4 separate regions of the Homo sapiens genome follow, and regions 2, 3 and 4 are each linked to region 1. Evidence: promoter capture Hi-C in 16 types of primary human blood cells and fetal thymus (Javierre and others, 2016). All regions are on one chromosome and are shown on one strand. Each heading gives the region's core, a stretch centred on a gene start or on the middle of the fragment in contact. The rest is flanking DNA. Distances are from core to core; before and after follow the strand shown. Region 1 holds the start of P2RY10 (P2Y receptor family member 10). Region 2 overlaps BRWD3 (bromodomain and WD repeat domain containing 3). Region 3 holds the start of ATRX (ATRX chromatin remodeler). Region 4 holds the start of ATP7A (ATPase copper transporting alpha).

The links. The method cuts DNA at HindIII sites, captures the fragments that hold promoters and counts their contacts. A CHiCAGO score of 5 or more calls a contact.
Region 2: a contact is called between a fragment that was not itself captured here and the fragment with the promoter of P2RY10 in region 1, in 1 of 17 cell types (total B cells). The highest score is 5.0, in total B cells.
Region 3: a contact is called between the fragment with the promoter of ATRX here and the fragment with the promoter of P2RY10 in region 1, in 5 of 17 cell types (total B cells, non-activated CD4 T cells, naive B cells and 2 more). The highest score is 8.3, in total B cells.
Region 4: the fragment with the promoter of ATP7A here is called in contact with the fragment with the promoter of P2RY10 in region 1 in 10 of 17 cell types (total B cells, total CD4 T cells, naive CD8 T cells and 7 more); the score reaches 33.8 in total B cells.

What each region holds. Positions count from the first base shown.
Region 1 is chrX:78,943,725-78,947,041 of GRCh38, forward strand. P2RY10 (P2Y receptor family member 10) reads left to right here and starts at 1,667. Exons shown (of 4, transcript NM_014499.4): 1 at 1,667-1,771. The HindIII fragment of the contact is 3,107 bases long and covers 1-1,710 here.
Region 2 is chrX:80,805,288-80,808,604 of GRCh38, forward strand. It overlaps BRWD3 (bromodomain and WD repeat domain containing 3), which reads right to left. Exons shown (of 41, transcript NM_153252.5): 4 at 3,252-3,311. Among named protein-coding and RNA genes, the nearest start is that of BRWD3, 2.9 kb to the right of the region's middle. The HindIII fragment of the contact is 274 bases long and covers 1,400-1,673 here.
Region 3 is chrX:77,784,364-77,787,680 of GRCh38, forward strand. It overlaps ATRX (ATRX chromatin remodeler), which reads right to left and starts at 1,853. Exons shown (of 35, transcript NM_000489.6): 1 at 1,619-1,853. The coding sequence starts at 1,638. RefSeq lists a silencer at 1,467-1,516 and enhancers at 1,617-1,726, 1,737-1,926. The HindIII fragment of the contact is 7,766 bases long and covers 1-2,665 here.
Region 4 is chrX:77,909,166-77,912,482 of GRCh38, forward strand. ATP7A (ATPase copper transporting alpha) reads left to right here and starts at 1,528. Exons shown (of 23, transcript NM_000052.7): 1 at 1,528-1,670. The HindIII fragment of the contact is 7,135 bases long and covers 1-3,317 here.

The DNA of each region.
Region 1 (3,317 bases), core at 417-2,916:
AGAAAGATGCAAAAGCAGAAACCCCTTATAAAACCATCAGATTTCATGAGACTTATTAACTACCAGGAGAATAGTATGGAGGAAACTGGAGGAAACTGCCCCCATGATTCTAATGAACTGCCTTCAAGTCCCTCCCACAACACGTGGGAATTATGGGAGTACAATTCAAGATGAGATTTGGGAAGGGATACAGAGCCAAACCATATCAATAATTAACACTCAAAATTTACCTGAGTTAAAATTTTTCATTTGAATTGGGACACTGACTTCTGGTTTTATTTTTCTTCCCTTTTTAGGGTCAGTGACAGAAGAAGCTGCTTGCGTGCAAGACAGAAATGAAGTAAACTGGTAGGTTTCCTTCTCGCAATGTGAAGGTTTTGTCTGTGAAATAAAGTTGGGATGTGGTGATCATAGCCAGTTGTAAGAAAAGGATTTCTTGTATTTCTGGATCCCAGGGTTTGCCTTCAAAGCTCAACAGGTCTGGAATTTTTTTGTTTGTTCAGAGAAGAATCTTACCCTAGGAAAACTGGCTCACACTAACCATAGGGAGGAACACAACTGCCAAATGGACTGAGATGTGTGTTGGTCTGTCAGTGTATTCTCTTTTCAGTAGGGATGCCAATTCAGAAACCTAAATTAACAAAAGATAGGAGCTGAATAAACATTTGAAATCAAAATTAAGAAGGGGATTGAAAGGCTAAACTTGTTTCATTTGACATACATCAGCCAGGATGATGCCAGTCTTCACAAGTTATGACATTTCCATCAATCATCCCAAGCTCTTAGTTTCCAATACTGTCAGCTTCTCTTTCCCTTACACGCCAACAGGGGTTTGTGCTGCATTTTAAACCTCGTTTCTCAAAACTACTCTCAGACTTAGTTGACACTGTAGTCCTCAAGTGTATGATCTTCCTGTATTCACATAGTTTTGAAGGCCCCATATACACTGTACATAAAAACCAGAATTTTAGTACACTGGAGGGAGACCCCGTAATCAATAATGTTCATTTACTTATTCATGCATTCTTTGAGCATTTGTTTATTTATTAATTCCCATATGTATTCATTCAATAACAATTCATGAAAATGCCTTGTGCTGGACAAATTGGGAATACAGATATGAATCAGACATGATCTTTACCCTCAAGCAGTGTGCAGTCTAGTAAAGGGATAATAAATATACAAAAATAATGAAACTATGTGTTAAATTGTGAGCCTCAAGATGAAGGGGTTGGGAGAGGGGCACTCCAGATGGAGGGAACAACTTAAGCAAAGGTACTTCTACTGTTTCTAATTTTGACTTGTATTTTTTAGGTTTCCTCAGCCTTTGCCCCTCAGGCTTGCACAAGCTGTAGCTTTCTTGTTACTAGGTAAACACTCTTTAGATTTTCCTGAAAATTTCATCTTACCATGGAACCTACTGGAATCAGTGAAAATCTAGATATGTCGGTTGTCAAGGAAGGAGATAGGGTGAGGAAGGCTGTTATATAGCCATTGTGTGAGTATGCATAGCCTCTGACTCCCTGCTATTTGAATTTCTCTGCACCAATGAAATAAAAAGAAATAAAATTTGAGTAACGTCATTTGCTCAAGGGACTTACCTTTCATTTGTGCAAATAAGGTTTCTGTGGTGAGACACCAGATAAACTCAACTTCCTCTTTCAACAACAAATGTGTCAGTTATCAGCAGGATCCATGCCGCCAGAGTAAAGCTTTCTACCCTTTACTCCCTGCAAAGAAACAAGAGTGCTTATCCCAGCTAAGCTCCAGGGTAAGTTAATGCCTAGCACCTGGGGATTGGTGGTTTCATGTGGGAAGATTGGTGTGATCATAAAAATCAGAACAGAGGTGGATGTGGGGCCAGTGTCTGTATTAAAATTGTCACTGGTTTCTCATCTCAGACATCTTACAACAGGAGCAAAGATAATTACTGTTGAGTTTGACCAGAGTCCAAAGTTAACGTTAATGCCATCAGTCCTCTTCATTATGCCAGGAGCATGGAGTCTGTGATGCAGCTCACTCTTTGATGAGGGCTCTTTAGAGAGTGGGACCAGAGAAGATGGCACAAAGTGGTAAGAAGAGTATATTCAGTGAGACTCATTGGGACAACTTGACATATTCGGCCAATAAAAGTCAATTTAATTTTTTATGGTGTATAATTTATCTAGCTGCATCGTGAAGGAAGATTTTTGGGTATAAAATCCTTGCTTTGGAAAATTTAGCTTTCAGAGATACTGAGACAAATAGTAGAAAGCAGGGTAATAGATTCTGGGGGCTGAAAGGGCCCATAGAGATCCAAATCCCTCACAATACAGTCAGGAAAACTGAGAGCCAGTGAAGTGAAGACACTTAGGTTCACTCAGCTTGTTAGTGGTATAGGTGGATCTAGGACCTGTGTCTTTAAACTCATGTTTGCCTTTTCCTACAGCAGTTTGCATCTCCCAGAGAATACTGTAAATTTATTTGTGACCCTGCCATTTTTTAGGATAGGAAAGGAGAAAGTATCCCAGATGACTTCAGAGTCTGGTCAGAGTGGTTCCTTGATCCTTTGAAAGCTAATTTTGACCGAAGTTCAGCCTTACTGGATAGCAAAGCCCATGAGTGAGGCACTCATTTTTTCAGTTATTATTGCTATTACTCTGAATACTAGCACCTCTCTCCTTCTGAGCTAAGATGACTAAATCAAAAGGAGACTTTCAGCTAAGGAGTCCCTGAAGGGAGACTGTGCCAAATCATTTGGAACCAGGATAAGGCTGGATAGAATGATACCAGATTTGGCTGTGCTTTCCAGGGGAGTAGGCTCAGTTCCAAGAATCCTGCAAGTGAGAATATTTTTATTTCAGTTGTTCAAATGGATGTGTGGAGTCATTATGATGTATATTAATTGGAGAATCTATCTCTTAGCAATTGCAGCACAGTAAAATTAACCACTTATGAAAGTAGGTGATATGCAGATATACTGAGGTGGAAAATGGTGTAAACTACAGTCAGAATCAGATCACACATTTGGGGCAATTGTTTTTGCAATGGTTCCTGTTGAACACAGATTCTTTGGCCAAATGCAGTTTATTTTGGGGCTCAACTGGGAAAGTTGTAGAGTTCAAGTTGTACAGACTACTCAAATCTGAAGACATCAAATGAATAAACACATTTATGGGTTGTTTTGGTTTGAAATAAGTGAGTTGGGGTTTTAAAAGACAGGCCAGCCTGCTGGGCTTGGTGGCTCACGCTGTAATTCCAGCATTTTGGGAGGCCGAGACAGGTGGATCACCTGAGGTCAGGAGTTCGAGACCAGCCTGGTCAACATGGCGAAACCC
Region 2 (3,317 bases), core at 287-2,786, 1.9 Mb after region 1:
ATTTATCATTACCTTAATATTATTCTGATAAATTAAGCATTAATGACAATCAGTTCAAATGAAAGTATACATATGAACAAAAAGGCAGGATTTTTGTCTCATATATGCAGTATACGTGGCCATGCAACCCCTATTTACTATGTTGATATCCTAGTTAACACTTCATTGTACATTTGTACTCTTTCCTTTTCATACCCCAATACACCTTAAGTTTGTAATGCTGCTATATAATGTAATATTCCAGGTAAATCAAGATGATACTATTAATACTTTGCCCTAAATTTCAATCCAAAACATGCAGCTAAATCAAAGACCACACTTTATAAATCTATCATTCCAATAACAATTTAAAAAATACCTACCCCAGGCCGGGCGCGGTGGCTCATGCCTGTAATCCCAGCACTTTGGGAGGCTGAGGTTTACGAATCACGAGGTCAAGAAATCGAGACCATCCTGGCCAACATGGCGAAACCCCGTCTCTACTAAAAAATACAAAAATTAGCTGGGCGTGGTGGCGCGTGCCTGTAGTCCCAGCTACTTGGGAGGCTGAAGCAGGAGAATCGCTTGAACCTGGGAGGCGGAGGTTGCAGTGAGCCGAGATCCCGCCACTGCACTCCAGCCTGGCAATAGAGCGAGACTCCCTCTCAAAAAAAAGAAAAAAACAAAAACACCTACCCCAAGAAAAAGTATCCCATCTCTTCTACAATGCAGCCACTCAAAATCAGGTCATATGTGAAATAATTTTAATCAAAAATATTACTGACAAACTTAGCAATCAAACCAACACTGCACATTCACTTCTCAGCCACTACACTTCTGTTCAAATTATCACTCAACCCTGCCCATCTTCTCTTACAAAGAAGTCCATAGGTAGAGAACAGACATGTAAAAGAAAACCATGGTATCTAAACTATAATGTTCAAACAACAGAACAAACTCTGTGTACGTAAAAAAAATAGAAAATATAAAAACAGAAAAGAATATTTAAAAGATACGTTAAAATTGAGTATATGTAAGAATTAACAATTTTATTTAATTCCTTAAAGGTTAAGCCTCACTAGTAATGAAAAAAAAAGAGCTACTTAAGTCAACCAGGAGCTATTGCCATCTATTAAATATTAAAGAAACTGAATGATTTAAAGCTATTAAAAAACTCACTCTAAATACCTAGATGATGACATTATAAATTAGTACAATCTTCTGGAGAGCAAACAATATATGACAAGAGCTATAAAACTCATGAGACCCTTTGACCTGGTAACTCCACTTTAGGGAATAAAGTCCAGGAAAATAACTGGGGGCAGAAGGGATAGGGGAGAAAGTAAAAAGCAGAAAAAGACCACCTAACTATGCAAAGTTATTAGTAAAAATCTGGAAGTAGCTCAAATGCTCAACTGGAAGCTTGGTTCAAATCATATCGTACCTTAAATACAACTGAATTTTTTCTTACCATTAAAATAATGATGACTATTCAAATACACAAGTACATTTTTAAATGTTAAGAAAAATATGAAGCATAAAATGGACACTGATCACAATTATGTAAAAATGTCTTTACAATATGAGGAAAAGTCTAGTAAACTGGGTTGTTGGGGTTTTTTTGGTGAGGAGACTATTTTTTAATTACTTTGATTTTCATTTCCTTTTTATCACTGTCAAGTTAGTTTCAAAAAAGCTTTTTCCTTTTAATCTCCTTTGCCACTTGCTTAAAATAACACATATAGGCTGTGAGAAGGACAAATGTAAAGGAAAACATTTTCAATACACCTCAGTATTAAAACTATATATAAAAACCTGTATCAGTCATTAAGTGTTAAAACATATTAGTAGGCACTGTTGTTTTTGCCTCTTTTAGGGGGAGGGAAAGACTTAAGTCCAACAGAAAGACTGACTACAAATTAACCTGGCAGTACATGAAGTTTTTCAAAACTAATTTTTCTCCATCTGAGAAATTGTTACTATTAATAATACAGATGGTCGAGTTTACCCTTATCACAATTATACCATTTTCTGTGATTTGCAAAATATAAGAAAACTATACAGTCGGTAGACTTGATAATAATAATGTGGCCTCACTGTTGTAAGATAACACAAACAAAAATAACAAAATGAACATTGAAGCAATTTAAATATAGTCTTATTGCAAGCAAATTTTAAATCATTTATATTTAGAGTCTATCATACACCGCCAACTTTCTTTAACTTTGTCCGATTTTCCTCCACTTGGATCTTACTTGAAGGAAAGATAGCTGAATTTAGATTTTAGTAACATCATTCCTTTCTCCTTTCACTACCCTCCAATGCACTGTGGCAGCAGCTAACACAAGGGAACCTCCCCCGCAAAATAAAAAGGATCACCTGTTTTTGTGTGTCAATGCTGAACACAAGGTACATTTATACTATGAATTATATTTGCAGGAGAAACAACATAGACCAATGCCTTTGGTCCTTCACTAAAGTATATTCCATTTTTAAATATGTCCATTGTTGTCTCCTTGTAAACCCAAAATCGTGTTTCACCAATTCTCAAAAAGTGATAACTCAGTTTCTATTTAGTGAAAACGGGTCTATGCAAATGCGACTTAACTGATAATTGAATGAGCTTATAAAATCGGAGATACGTAACGATTATGCTTTTACTCAGTAGACCATTACCTAACCGGCAAAATTTGAAATTGGCTTGACGCTCCTTATTATTTTTAATTATGTCGTTTTTCCTAATCCCTGGTCCGTCAATTCCCCTCCAGAGCCCCTTCCTCCCACGCCTCCCCCCTGCCCCCCCGCCCCCCCCAAAAAAGACCAAGCCTGGCCTTAGTTCCCGTATTTCAGGCCAGGACCAACCAGAAACCAGTTTTCTTCCACTAATCCGGAACTCCGGGCTGTTACCAACGCTGTCATTGGCCAGCGTCAGACCTTAGTACGTGCCCCAAGATAACCCCTTGGTTTCTCTCCCTTTTCCGCCTACAATGGGCCTTCCCCAATGTTTGTAACATATTCATAATCCACAACACGGCACCTCTGATAATCAACTCACATTCTTCAAAGTTTTCGGGTGGAAACAAGCAGGGCCAAGGGGAGGGCAAGGTACCCTTTTTCCGACTAGCAGGGATGGGGGAAGGGGCAGTCGTTCTTTGGCTCTGCACCGAGCTCTAGAACCTCGTCGGCTGAGAGGTGGGGGGCGGGTTGGGGGTACAAGGTGGGGAGGGAGTGGTGAAAGAGTTAGGTTAAGTTGAAATGAAAACTTTACTCACCAGATCCTCGAAGCTTCTTCGGTGCTCTTTCCCCTCCCAATCTAAGCGGCGCGGAATCAGCTGGGG
Region 3 (3,317 bases), core at 603-3,102, 1.2 Mb before region 1:
CTGACCCTTGTGTAAAATTAATTATTCTATTCAGAAATTCTATATACGTAATTTGTTCATTCTAAAGAAACTGAGAAGATCCGACTTCAAACTATAGTTTCAAATGTAGACTTTGTGAAACTTAGTAAAATCTAGAGGTCATAATTTAACTGTAAGGTACACCATCCATGCATATGAACATGAGTGCCTGGTAATTACAGGCCAACAAGTTATACTGGGTACCACTTACGTGCCTAATACCCCACAGATAAAGATTTGTTGTATTTGAGCCTACTGACAAATTCAGAAACCAAGGCCACAATCGTGTACACAACTAGAGATCTACAATCTAAGAACTGAAGCATATCTTTCCCCAAGGTAAAGAAAATATAATCTACTGCTTGTTCATGCAGAAATACAGACATACGTATCATAGGCTCATTGCCCAATTCTACATTCTAGCTAAATTGCTCTAAAAACATATGCCAATCTAAGAGTTACTCAAAGGCACATTTCGCCAACTTGAAATGCAATTCTGACCCATGCTCCTTGTAATTTTATTTTGCCACTGGACGCCAAGGATGCATCTCCGAGTAAAAAAATTACTTAATTCACATTGTGGGATGAAAATTCAAATGTCAAACTGAAACGCCAGCCAGCCACCTGGGTAAAAGTGTATACATTTCATATTGACTACCCAAATTTTCAGACCCGTCAAGAGGCAAATCAGAAGCACACAGAAAAACAGCTTCAACCTAATAAACGTGCTTGATTGGTTAAGAGGAGGCCTGCCAGGCATTTTCCCTTGCAATAAATCTTACTTCGCATCAGCCCACGTTAACCTGCCCTTCATCCTTCATGGAATAAATAAGTAAATAAAGATAGGGCCTAATTACTCCTCGAAATTTGCCCAGAAAGTGGGGAAACACTTGAGGTCCCATTAAGGCTGGACATCACAAAAAGTAGTATACTAGGGTCCTCTGGAAGCAAAACCCTGTGTTAAGTCCCCCCTCGCCTAGAAATAAACCCAAGGATATCCTTCAGGATATGGAGTAGAAAAGATACCTAAATACCTGGAACTGCACCACAACCCAATCAAAAAAAGGCTTGTCTCCTGGGGCTGCAGAAAAAAAATCCCGCAGGGCCCGGGTGCTTCCCATCTCCAGCAACCTAAACGCCTCTAAGTCGTCCTGGGATCTCACATCCTCGCGCCCGCCCACCCCTCCCCCTCTTCTCACCCTCCCCCCGCTTCTTCCCCACGCAGTTTCTAGGCCCAAAGATTAGCAAAAATGACCGGGATACCAAAGACCGCCTCCGACTTCGAGGTCTCAATCCCACAGGCACCAAAGAATAAACAGAGGAGCCCGACCAAGCGTCACCGTTTAGGGGAGATTGCAAGAAGCGCCCCATACCCTAGGCCGCGCCCCCCCCACCTCCCCCCACCCCATCCCCACCCCCACCCCCGTCGGAGCCTTGCGCCGATACCCCGAAACCCTTCTCACCTAAAGAGAAAACGATGCCTCTTTCGGCTAAGCAACACACAGGCCTAACCCACCAAGCGAACGCCTTCCCAAACACCCGACTCAGACGGTGCCTGGGCCCAGACCGCTGGGGCCCATGAGACGGGGTTGCGTTTTACCTCATGGGCTCAGCGGTCATGTTTTCGCTTGAACGCCTTGTCGGCTTCTGTGATTGCTGGGCGCCGATCTGCGCTCCCCCGCGCCCGGTTACGATAGAAATGCACTGGAGTCTTAGTCGTCACTGTAGCTGCTGCTGGAACCTCCCCACAGCTCAAAGGCCGCTACCACTGCCACCGCCGCAGGAGCCGCGGAAACAAAGCGACACCGCTGCCGCCGCCATTTTGTTGGGCCGAGGCTCAGGCAGGAGAATTGGCGCGTCCTCCCTCTTTCTCTTTCCGTCAGCCATTGGCTACCTCCTCCAAAGCACAGAGTCTTATTGGCTACGGAAATTCACCTTCTTTGGGGGCCTGTTGCTAAGGCGGTCGACGTCATTTGATCCCCTCCACCTTTTCGCAGGGGGTCCAATTTAGTCCCAATTGACCTGAAAGTGCTAGTGACATAGTTTGACTTTATTTTGAAAATGCTCTTTTGGTCCAACCTCTTTTTTCTTTGACATATTAACGAAGTAATAACAGCAACCTACATTTATTGAGAGTTTACTATATGCTCGGCACTACACTAATCCTTTATCCGGGTTATCTCATTTAATCTTTACACTCTCTGAGGTAGACAAACCTACATTTTCCAGATGAGGAAACCAAGACACAAAGTCCCACAGTAGTGGAGCCGAGATTCACCAGACACTCTTAACCACTAATCTGTATGGCCATCCTATGTAAGTATTTTCTTTCCTATATGCTAGGCTATCATCAAGTTATTTGCTTTCCTAGATGTTTTATACATAATATTTGGCACACCAACATGCTTGGAAATGTATATGTGTATAATATACTTATATATATGTATATGTGTGCAGACGACATAAGACCAACTTGAACGCTGCATAAAATTCTTTCCATATTGAATAAAGTGTCTCTTAGAATACACACACACACACACACACACACACACACACACACACACACACGGGCCATTTCCCCAATTTGATGTGATGTTTAGCTCACAAACCAATCAATTTAGATCTGCTTCCTTCTCATTACAGAGGAAGCTTGGCTGGATGATCTGTAAATGCCTTTCCCGCTTTTATGATCTATAATTTGATTTTACATTGGTAATCTCTGCTAATCACAAACAAGTCCTCTAAAATCTAATCGCTTCGAAATTTATTTCCAAATTTATTCTGCCATGCATGCTTTAGTTCATTCTATTTATTTTTCTTGAAATATGCAAGAGCTCCTGTCGGGGTTAGGTGACAGGGTTGCTGCTTTCTACTGGGATAGCAAGAGGGGAGCCTTTTTTGAATGAAACACTTTGAAAATCTGATAGGCTCAGGCAACTTTTTTTTTTTTTTTTTCTGAGACAGGGTCTAGCTCTGTCACCCAGGCTGGAGTGCAGTGGCGTGACGCAGTTCACTGCAGCCTCGACCTCCTAGGCTCAAGCAATCCTCCCACCTCAGCCTCTCAAGCAGCTGGGACTGCAGGCGCGTGCCATCAAGCCCAGCTAATTATGTATTTATGTATTGGTATAGATGAGGTAGGTCTGTCTGTTGCCCAGGCTGGTCTCAAACATCTAAGCTCAAGCCATCCTCCAACCTCGACCTCCCAAAGTGCTGGAGTTACAGGGGTGAGCCACCGCGCCTGGCCTCAGGCAACTTTTTAATCAACAGACGCCTGTACACATTGCAATTATATCTTTCAA
Region 4 (3,317 bases), core at 278-2,777, 1.0 Mb before region 1:
GGCTGCACACATTGACAACTACAAAATAATGCCTGGGAAGATGAGTCCTGAGGCTAATTTTATATTTATGTGGATGAGTGTGGAGGGGGATAATAATTCTGAAATACTTAATCACAGACCTAAAATGTAGATCTATGGGTAATTTTAAATGTTGCCTGTCAAGGCTTAATAGGGACTTGACAACAGCTAGGATGGAAATTATTTCAACACTTAAATATGCTTACTTTGTGCCGGACGCTGTTCTAAGTCTTTTACAAATATTTACTTGATATTTGTATTTTGTGTACTATTTTGATTTCTGCAACATTATTAGGCTTCATACTCTTCTGTGGGAACTGGGTTCAAATGGTTCCAGATGAAAATACAAATAGTCCTGTGATTAGTTTTGTTCTACATCTTATGACAGATACTTCATGAAAGGAAATATGAAAAGGCCACATCTTGCTTTGAAATAAGTGAGATGGAGCCTCTCCCTCTTTTTACTGTTAATGTTCATAGTTTTAAAAATCCTAGAATTTTGCTGCTTTTCAAAATGTTAAGTTGGAAAGCAAGAATAAAATGACCCTTTTTTCAAATGTTTTCTGTACCATTTATTGCATTGTTTACATTTTATGCATCTCATTTCTAAATGAACTCATGGTAACAGAGACTGTAACACTTTTGCATCACCGGAATCTTCTAGGTGTGTAAAATGATGGACGAGTGAATGAATAAATGGGGGAGTGGTTCAGAGCTTGGAATGGCGCTATGAAGGTGGTGAAGTGACGTCCCTACCCCCTCAACACACATATAAAAATTATGAATTTATAAACATTTTCCTCTTGATGTAATTTTTCAATGGAGGGAAGAGGATAAATTCATAGTTCTGGCACTTACATCTGGAATTAGGCTACACAGTCTACGGGAAGCAAGTTAACACAGTCTAACAGATGCACGTGAATTTCATGCTGGGCGAAGATGAACTATGTGGAAGATGACTTATAAGGAGCTTTTATGTTACATCTTGGCAGTTAACACAGTCTAACTGATGCACGTGAATTTCATGCTGGGCGAAGATGAACTATGTGGAAGATGACTTATAAGGAGCTTTTATGTTACATCTTGGCAGTTAACACAGTCTAACAGATGCACGTGAATTTCATGCTAGGCAAAGATGAACTATGTGGAAGATGACTTATAAGGATCTTTTATGTTACATCTTGGCCTGAGGTTAGGAAACTAAAGATGACAAAGGCACTGTTTTAGTATGGGTTTTCTGGTTTCGCTTTTGTCGTGGGGGCGGGGTGGGATAGTGGACTCGTACCCTAACAAAGACCCACTCGAGGCTGCGTGTCGGCCCGGGGGCAGCAGGGGGCAGGAGAAGCTGGCTCTAGACCACGCGTTCCTTTTCACGTGACCAGTCGCTCTCTTTCCCGTGGCGGCCCTGCTTCCGGCAGGGGCATCACCCGGAAGTGGGGGTAGTCGAGGGAGGGAGGGGTAAAGGCGGCTGGCCGCCGCGGCGGGGGGTGGGAAAAGAGAAGCAGAGGGAGGAGTTGTTGCTGCCGCCGCCGCAGCCGCAGCTACTGTGACTTCTCCGATTGTGTGAGCTTTGTTGGAGCCTGCGTACGTGGATTTATCGCTGCCACGGTCTGCGTAGCTCCAGAGGTTTAACCATAGGATAGAGAAACCAGGTAAGTCCTACATTGGCTTCCCGTCGTCCTTTCTCCTGGAGGGGGTCTTCTGTGCTGTCAGTTTGTACTACGAGTGTGGTGAGAAGGTCATGTTAGTCTGGGGCAGTCTCGAAAGTTTCACTTATTCACAATTCAGGTATTAACTACATTTATGTTTTACCTCCCCTAACAGGGGATAGAGGAGGGGAAATTAAATCCTGACCTGTGTCACTTTCTTGTACCCTCTTGGAGAGAATGTCCTGATCATCCATGGCCTACGTTACCCAATTAATTGAGGGTACAAGAAAGTTTGTGTTTGGCATTGAAAGTCACATGGACTGGGGTCTTTGCTTAGTGACACCTCTTTATACTTTGGAAGCTAAGGTTACTAAAATGACCATAATTGATGAAATAATAATTGAAAAATAGATATTTGGCTTCTTGTCTTGCTCTGGGAGCGTAAGGTAAACTGAGAGAACTCTTGTTTCCACTTAGTTTTGTTCATTGTGCCCCCTTTCCAGTAAAGTTACTGTCCATTGTCCGACCCTGTGGCATCTTATCTTTGACACTTTTCTTCGTTGTAGACGTTGAGATTATCTTAAGCACAAACACTTATCGTTTCACAATTCAGCGTTTGTCCAGGATCTGATCTTTATTTTAATCACAGACTCTTTATCTACAATAGTATGGCTTTGTATTGAGAATATGTGCAGAACATTGAATTAGATGATACTGAGGTTATTAATTTTTTTTTTTTTTTGCCGGGTGCGGGGGGGTGGTGGGGAGGGGGTGATGCACAAGAAATAAGACAGAGTTCCTGGCCTCAAAAGAGTTTACTTACAGTAGGCTGGGCGCAGTGTCTGACACACCTGTAATACCAACACTTTGGGAGGCCGAGGAGGGTGGATCACCTGAGGTCAGGAGATCGAGACCAGCCTGGCCATCATGGCGAAACCCTGTCTTTACTAAAAATACAAAAATTAGCTGGGCGTGGTGGCGGGCGCCTGTAATCCCAGCTAGTCGGGAGACTGAGGCAAGAGGATCGCTTGAACCTGGGAGGCGGATGTTGCAGTGAGCCGAGATCGTGCCACTGCACTCCAGCCTGGGCTACAAGAGCGAAACTGTCTCCAAAAAAGAAGAAAGAAAAATAAACAGTTTACATACAATTGAGTCCGAATTGAGTCAGTTGAATTCAGCTATGAAGACAACGGTTTCTAGCAGCCCCACTGACTGAATTACTAGGTTGCTTATCACATCCTTTTCAATGGTTATTTTTGAACTGGCATTTTATTATATTTAACATTTTCTGGTGTCTAAGGTCATGACATGAGAGAGTTTTTTTTGTACTTGAGGATCTCAATGTAGTAGGAAAGAAAGATACACGATTACCTAAACATTTAAAAAATCTCACTAACGTTATATATTAGAAACAGGAGGTGTTATGAGAGTGCAGGGAAGGGAGCATGTGAACTGGGCTTTGAAAAATAGATAGGATTTAGCTTTGCAGGAATGGAGGAAGAGGAAGACATCTATCTGGACTGATAGATAGAAGAAATAATGTGAGCAAAGCCATGGGGGTCTGGAAAGTTGCCCGACATCCAGTAACACACTGTAAGTCAATATTCCTATTTCTAACAGCCACATCTTCCAAGATGTCACTGATTAAAA